Linked DNA regions of Homo sapiens: region 2 is linked to region 1. Evidence: promoter capture Hi-C in human tissues and cell types (Jung and others, 2019). All regions are on one chromosome and are shown on one strand. Each heading gives the region's core, a stretch centred on a gene start or on the middle of the fragment in contact. The rest is flanking DNA. Distances are from core to core; before and after follow the strand shown.

Evidence for each region. The method cuts DNA at HindIII sites, captures the fragments that hold promoters and counts their contacts. A contact is called where the count stands out against the background at its distance.
Region 2: a contact is called between a fragment that was not itself captured here and the fragment with the promoter of PPIL6 in region 1, in 1 of the 25 tissues and cell types used here (dorsolateral prefrontal cortex).

The regions. Positions count from the first base shown.
Region 1 is chr6:109,437,774-109,441,928 of GRCh38, reverse strand. PPIL6 (peptidylprolyl isomerase like 6) reads left to right here and starts at 1,301. Exons shown (of 8, transcript NM_173672.5): 1 at 1,301-1,473. The coding sequence starts at 1,339. It overlaps SMPD2 (sphingomyelin phosphodiesterase 2), which reads right to left and starts at 1,205. Exons shown (of 10, transcript NM_003080.3): 1 at 758-1,205; 2 at 476-572; 3 at 301-377. The coding sequence starts at 807. RefSeq lists enhancers at 321-400, 561-630 and silencers at 1,044-1,249, 891-1,710. The HindIII fragment of the contact is 4,118 bases long and covers 1-3,127 here.
Region 2 is chr6:110,876,423-110,880,571 of GRCh38, reverse strand. The region is part of intron 1 of AMD1 (adenosylmethionine decarboxylase 1); the gene reads right to left. Among named protein-coding and RNA genes, the nearest start is that of AMD1, 3.7 kb to the right of the region's middle. RefSeq lists an enhancer at 3,935-4,149. The HindIII fragment of the contact is 3,078 bases long and covers 1,142-4,149 here.

The DNA of each region.
Region 1 (4,155 bases), core at 52-2,551:
ACCCAGCCTTCTTCCCCTCCCTTGTCTTCCAGCTCTGATCAGCTATTTTTTTCTTTTTCTACTGCTGGGACTAGCCCTAGAACCAAGGCGACAGCCTTTGGAGGAGTATAGGGCAGCCAGAAAACAAAGCTGAAATGGGCTGAAGTCATAGGACCTTCTTGGTTCACCCTTCTCCTTCTCTCACATCCAGAGGGAGAGGAGGCTGGAGGAGACTGGAGAGTGCAGGCAGGATAGGGAAGGGCTGGCAGGGCCAAGAGCCTCCTGGGATGACAACAGGCTTCAGGCCAGTGGGCTTCTCACCTCCGGAAGTGGTGTGCAGCTGGGTAGGTAGGTGACAGCTTCTGTCTCAGGTACTGGAAGTCCTGCTCACTCCACACCTGAGGGAAGCGGTGAGGATGCCTGCTTGGTCTTTCCCCAGTGGGACGGTCTGTCCCTCCTCCCAGCCTGGGTTCCGCACCGTGCTGCACAATCTCACCTCCTCCAGCAAAGCCAGGTCGAAGCTCTCCTGGTTCAGAAAGTCTCCCAGGCGCCTCATGCGGTCGGCCCGGTGCTTGCTCAAGTACGGAATGCCCCTAAGGAAGGGAAGAGCGGGGCAGGGGAGGCGACTGCTGGGACCACCGGCGCTGGGGCCAGATGTGGACTTTGGAGGTTCGGGTTTTCCCTACACCCTGAGATCGTGGGGCGGGATAGGGGGAGGAAGGCTGCATGGGTGCGAACGGAAGGTGGCCCCCAGACCGCACTCCGCAGACGCACTCACCAGCAGTTGAGGTTGAAGATCCGCAGTCGCAGGGAGAAGTTGGGCTTCATGGTTGGGGAGCTCCAGGGGCGCTAGGCGGCTCGAACTCTCCAGCGACGGCCGCGGTGGGGACGGGGGCGGCCGGCGGCGCCTTCTCCCCAGACCGTTCCTTCTTCGCAGGCGGCGCGCACAGGTGGGCACCAAGCCCGCGTGGCTCAGGTCGGGCCCGACTCCCGCGTTCCCCCGGCAACCGGCCGGCTGTTCCCAATCAGGCGGGCCGCCAACCCGGAAAGGCGATCCGCTGCCGAAATCCGGGCGCCCAGGCTCGGTAAGGGCCGCGCGCTAGGACCCTGGGGGTCCGGAGAGCGCCCCCGGGTGGGCGGCTCCCGGTTCCTTTTCCTCCAAGCTCGTCCCCGGCGGTCGCGGCCGCCCGCGCGCCGGCGGCCCAGCAACAGGCGCAAAGTTGAGGAAAGGCCCAGCCGCCACGGGCCGCCCTCGACCCGCCCCTGGGCCCCGCCTCCTGCGAGCGGCGGAGGCGGGGCCGCGCGGTTGCCGGAGCGACGCGCAGTGTTTGGGGTCACCGGGCGTCCCCGGGCGCGGCCATGGCAAGGCCGCAGCCGTGCGGGCCCCCGCACGCTAGGTGCGGCTCGCCGTCGCTGCCGGAGCGGCCGCTGCAGGTGAAGGTGGTGGGGCTCTTCAGCTGCCCCAACTTTCAGATTGCGAAGAGCGCCGCTGAGGTAACCACAGAGAAACCTCCGTCGTGGGCGGCCCTCCCCGCTACCCGCTCTCGGCCGCGTGGACTGCAGGCGCCGCGCCTCCTCGAGGCGGCGGGGGTCGAGGCCCCACCGGCCGAGGAAGGGGCTGGCGTGTCCTGGCCGGGCGGGCTCCGTCTGGAGGACCGGGAGGAGAGTATAGGGGGGCAAGTGCGGGTCCGGGGGCGGGCGTTCCACTTGGCGACTTTTAAAGGGAGAACTGAGCGAAGGAAGGGTTCAGAACCGCGCTGGGAGATAAGGTAATCCCCTCCGAGACACACACACACACACCCGCAGATTTTGTTCTACGTCAATTTTTTCTTTAATTAGAGATATTTAAATTTATGGAAAAATGATTACTATATAACTAGCTAATTTTTACAACCCCGCCACCTCGGCCCAAGCGATTTTTGTTAACTATTCATGCGGGGAGATTCTTTTCTTTGAATTTTATAGAGCCGTCACTGCGTTCCAATCGAACTAGATGCTTCACAAGTGCTTTGGAAAATCATTTCTTTGTAAACACTCAGAACGATACTAAAGGAAAAGCACTTGAGGAAACTGGAAGAATTTGGCCAGATCAGTCATGCTGCAGCACACTTACAACCTGAAATGCAGGAGAAATGTATGAAATGTCGGCATGTAGAATTCAGCCCTTCTTACAGGGTTTGCTCCAGAAATGCTGTCCATGGCAAACTTCTCGCCGAAGCTCACTTGACTCCAGGACCATGCCTTAATTAATGTTTTTAACTCCCGAAGTACCCAGCTGGATACTTGACAACAAAATGTTCCCAAATAGAAGATATCTTGGCGCGGTGACTCACGCCTATAATCTCAGCACTTTGGGAGGCAGAGGCGGAGTTCTAGACCAGCCTGGCCAACATGGTGAAACCCCGTTTCTACTAAAAATACAAAAAATTAGCCGGGCGTGGTGGCGGTCTCTGTAATCCCAGCTACTCAGGAGGCTGAGGCACAAGAATCGCTTGAACCCGGGAGGCGGAGTTTGCAGAGAGCTGAGATCGCGCCATTGCCCTCCAGCCTGGGCGACAGAGCCAGACCCCGTCTCAAAATAAATAAATAATAAAAAGAAAACAAGTGATCAGAAGTCTGTGAAAATAATACATGAATCATCAAAAGTAGAAATTGTGGTCTGTGTTGCTTGGGCAGACGGGATCAGCAACCTTTTATTACCAAAGTTAATGGCCATGAAGTTAATTACAAAGTTAATGTATTAATGAGTTTCAGAGATTTTTTTTCTCTTTTTTTTCGCTCTTTTTCTGAAGGCACATATTTTCTGTGCCGACTCCACATTGTAAAGAAAGTGTTGACAAGTTTTTTTCTGTAAAGTCCAGATAGTAAATATGTTAGGCCTTCTTGGCAATAGGGTCTCAGTCACACCTGTTTAGCTTTTTCCTGTGTTGCAAAAGCAGACACAGAGATGGAAATGAATGACAGTATTCCAGTAAAACCATATTATGGACACGAAATTTGACTTGCGTATAATTTTCACATAACGTGAAATACAATTCTTTTGATTTTTTAGAATTGTTTACAGGCCGAGCGCGGTGGCTCTTGCCTATAATCCCAGCACTTTGGGAGGCTGAGGCGGGCAGATCACGAAATCGGGAGTTCAAGACCAGCCTGGCCAACATGGTGAAACCCCATCTCTACTAAAAATACAAAAATTATCCAGGCATGGTGGCGGGCGCCTGTAATCCCAGCTACTCGGGAAGCTGAGGCTGGAGAATCGCTTGAACCCGGGAGGTGGAGGTTTCGGTGAGCTGAGATCGTGCCACTGTGCTCCAGCCTGGGCAACAAGAGTGAGACTCTGTCTTAAAAAAAAAAACAAAAAACTGTTTACAAATCTAAAAATTATTCCTCTCCAACCCCTGATGTAGAAGACAGTAGGTCGAGAAAACAATATCTTTATTGTATTAATAATGTCAATTTTCCCTTTCTTAAACTTTTACCTACTGTAGTTATATTCAAATATGAAAATTCAGCTAGTTTTTTTTTTCTTTTTTTGGAAGAGATGGGGGTCTCACTGTGTTGCCTAGGCTGGTCTTGAACTCCTGGGCTCAAGCAATCCTCCTCGACCTCCCGAAGTGCTGGGATTATAGGCATGGGCCACGGTGATGCCCAGCCTCTAGTTCTGTCTTAATAAAGGATATCTGAATGTATTCCTAACATGATAATTTGTGAGCGATCCCAGATGCCTGATTAACTGACAAAGATTTAGATTTGTGTTGAATGTTCCCAACACAAAGAAATAATAAATGTTTGAGATGATGGATATGCTAATGATAAGTATACATTATATGTATTGAGACATCACTACCCCATAAATATGTGCAATTATTATATGTCAATTGAAAAATAAAAAACAAAATGTAAAAACCAAACACACAAAAGATTGAAATTTGTAGAGAATAGGAACAAATATTGCATACATTTTCATTTGGATATAGTCCGTTCTACAACAAATACTAAATTACTAAAAAGACATGTGTTTCATTTGAAAACTGCTGGATTTATAGTTTATTCCAGATGGTTAGAAATAGCAGTCAACCGGGCCAGGTGCGGTGGCTCACGCCTGTAATCCCAGCACTTCGGGAGGCTGAGGCAGGCAGATCGCCTAAGGTCAGGAGTTCAAGACCAGCCTGGCCA
Region 2 (4,149 bases), core at 1,431-3,930, 1.4 Mb before region 1:
CAAACAAAATTAAGTTGGACTTTTACCTTACATCATAAACAAAAATTAACTCAAAATGGATCAACAACCTAAACATTAACAGCGAATAAAACTCCTAGAAGAATACATAGGGTAAATGCTTCAGGGCATTACATTTGGCAATGATTTCTTGGATATGACATACAATAAAATCAAAAACAGACAAATGGAACTTGAAAACCTAAAATGTAAACATTTCTATACATCAAAAGAAACGAGTGAAAAGACAACCTACAGAATAAAATACTTGCAAGTCACCTCATAAGGGGTCAATATCCAAAGCAAAAGACACACCTACACACAACTCAACAAAAAGTGATTAAAAAATGGACAAAGGGACCAGGGGCGATGGCTCAATCACTTGAAGTCAGGAGTTCAAGACCAGCCTAGCCAACATGGCGAAACCCTGTCTTTTACTAAAAATACAAAAATTAGCCAGGCATCGTGGTGCATACCTGTAGTACCCACTATTAGGGAGGCTGAGGCAGGAGAATCATTTGAACCTGGGAGGCGGAGGTTGCAGTGAGCTGAGATGGCACCACTGCACTCGAACCTGGGTGACTGAGACTGTCCAAAAAAAAAAAAGACCAAGAACTTAAATACAGAAGGATCCCATTAGTGCAGGGTTATGCTCTAATCACCTGAAAACTCAATACATAGATGCTATTCCCATACCCAGTTAGGTCAGACACTTTCTGAGGATGATGCCTGCAAATTTTTATTTGAAAAGCTTCCAGGTCATTAGATTACTCATTACTTCCTAATGTAAAACCAGCTGGTTTCAGAGTTCAGGTAATTTATCCAAAGTCACTGCAGCTTCTCAATTCTGCTCTTACCTCATATTTTTAGGTCTGTTTTAGAGGCTCTCATTACAGTACATTCATCAGGGTGCCTCTACCCCAGGTAGTAAGCAGTCTTTAGGTAAAAGGCATCCTAAAACCAGATCATTCTTGAGTAAAGCTAGACTGACCAGAAGTTAGATTCTGAGGGTGCCTTCCTGCGGCAGTGAATTCAGATAACCTGAGAAATAAGCCTCCTCCCTTTTGTTCAAAGATATGAACCTATTATCATCACATTATTGTTTCTCTATCTCAAATTTTTACCCCAAATCGGGATACTCCTCTCAGTTTTCTGCTACTTTCAACATGTGCTTCTTAAAGATACATGGTTTGTAAACAACAGTTGAAATATTTTCGTTGTTGTTGAGAGGGTTTCACTCTGCCACCAGATGGAGCGCACTGGTGCAATCTCATTTCGCTGCAGCCTCGATCCCCCAATGGCTCAAAAAAATCCTCCCACCTCAGCTTCCCGAGTGGCTGGGATGCAGACACGCACCAGGATGGACCAGCACGCACAGATAATTTTTCAATTTTTTTTGTAGAGTCAGGATTTCACTATGTTGCCCAGACTGGGCTCTCAAACTCCTTGGTCTCTCAGAGTGCTGGGATTAGACATGAGCCACCAAGCCCAGCCATGAAACCTTTTTGAAACTGCTGGGAGGAATGTAACGAGAAGCTTTATTCTTTAGCAGGAAGCATTTCTACTCTGAAACATTACACTAAAAGGTTTTTTGGCAACGGGTTGTAAATTCCTTCAATGTAAATTATTGATATTGCAATAATGCTGCATAATGATGTAGTCAAATAAGTCATGAGTTTGGGGAAAGTTAAGCTGAGGTATGACTATCTTTACAACTGCCCCAATCCTTTACTAAAAATTATGTTTTAGTTTATAAAATCTGAGTAAAGCACAGTAATAGGATTTCCAGTCCTGAAAAATCATTCTTTTCTCAGCAAAATTTTCTATTTTCTAACAGATTTCCTTCTTACTACTCTCACCCTCCCTAAAGCTGCCATGTCTTATAAAAAGCTTTTGTTTGTTACAGCACTTTGATCCAACAACTAAACCATTTTTTAAATGGTCACTGATTTTTATTCAACATCCGTAAAATCTGAAAAATCAGAGAAAACTGCAGGTTACCCCTAAGAAACCGCCTCTCCCTTAATTGTCCTTTATTCATCTGGATATACCTGGACTGCTGCTTTTCTCCAACAGTATTGTTTAACCCAAGCTATATCATAAAAGATTTTTCTTTGTTAAATTTCTCAGTATTACATAATTTGTTCACTTAAGATAAAATATCTTAAATGGTCTACAAGAGGGAAGCAGTGTTTAGTAAAAAGGTGTACATTCAGAAAAGATTCCAAGCATTAAAGCTTGGACTGATGAGCCAAGTTTGTTTAAAGTGTATTCCCTCACACCACACACAAAATCAATTCCAGATGGATTGCAGATCTAAATATGAAAGGTAAATATCGTGTAGGAGAAAAAAATATTTCAGACTTTGGGATGAGAAAACCGAGGGAAGTATGTTGTTTCCCAGAAGAATGCGTGAAAAAAGTTGGATATTTTCTCCCTTGAATTATACAGAACACTCCAGTGAAATCATCTGGGCCTAGATGATTGACTGATTCAAGTTATTTAGGTGTTCTAGGACTGTTTTGGGTTCTCCATTTCTTCTTGCATTAGTTTTGGAAAGCTATTTTTCCAGGATTTTTTTCTCCCTCATATCCTTATCTTGTTATCCTTGTCTTTAGCATCAATACTAATGCTCTCTTTGGACATTTAAGCCTTTCATTCTCTTAATCGTTTTTATGTCCCTATGTTTATTATGCTTTATAAACAGATTTGTTTAATTCCATCTGTTCATCTTTTAACCTACTTTTAGTTTATTCACATCTTAATAGAGCCCAGGAGGTCAAGGCTGCAGTGAGCCATGATCCTGCCACTGCACTCCAGCCTGGGCTATAGAGGGATCCTGTCTTTAAAGTGTTAAAGATAACAGTTTACGTACTACATATAACATATTAACTTATTTATTCTTCACAACTTCCATGAGCTATGTACCATTATTGTCTCCATTTTACAGATGAGGAAACAGCTCACACAGCTATTAAATGCTGTTTGAATTCAAATCTTGTTATTCCAGAGGCTATGCACTTAATCACGTCATTTGAGTAAAACATGTCACGCTTTATTCTTCTAGATGACCGATTATCCTTCCCTGGGGTCTCTGGGGCTGGCCCCATGTCCCCACCGACCGGACTCCGTCCATGATACTCTCTTTGCTAGGCTGTTGATTTTAGGTGATTCAAGGAACACCTACTATTTCAGGCTTTTTTAAACATCCTGGTAAATAACCTAACCACTTGAGTGGTCACTGAAAAATGTTCCAACGAAGGTTATCACGGGACCTTAGTTAAATCAACATATTTTTCAGTTCTTGCTTAACTTGCTTTATCTACAACAGTTACAATGTGGCAGTGTACTACCAATAGTTGTTCAATGAATGTTACATGTCCACAAAATGGATGGCACTAAATCATCTACACAAGGGAATATTTTGTCCTTCAAAGTTTAACTTTGGCCATGATTTTAAAAGCCACACTGGAGCAGTAAAACAATTTGGGCTGATTAAAGTACAAAGTAAAAAGGGTTCTTAAACATTTAAAGAAAGCAGGCTGCTTTGTAAAAAGCCTCTTCCTCCTCTCTCCACTTTGACTCAGGAAGCTCTAAACAGCCAAACCGCCAAGAACTTGGGGAGAACAAAATCTTCTTCCCTTTATTAAGAACATGTACTTACTATTATTTAAGGGCTCAAACATTTAAAAAGCCAAAGTGACAACTTCTGTTATTCGTTTTCTAGGACTGTTCTTACCCAAGATTTTCTAGGTTCTTGCCAAGATTTTCTAGGTTAATTATCCTGATCACAATCGTTTTACCAAACGTCTATCACAAATACCATCTTTCTCATCTGTGAAATGAAGGAAATACTAAGCTTCTCCATGACCAAAGTCCGCTTCCTATAATCTCACGTGAGCCTGGCACGTAGTAAGCGCTATAGACATTTTAAGTGTCACACGAAGCTTGAAAAAAATGAGACGTGTGACATTTTAGCTATGACTAGTATTTTTTTCTACAATGGAATCGTTCAAGATACACTGCTAGAAACCGGGTTTCCCGTCGTGCCTTAAAGTCTCGGTAGCACGTGTCTGCCTGGATTCCCTTTTCCAGTTGCTTTTTGTCAAGGGACAGCTCCAAGAACAGCTAACACTCCTAAAACGCCCATTG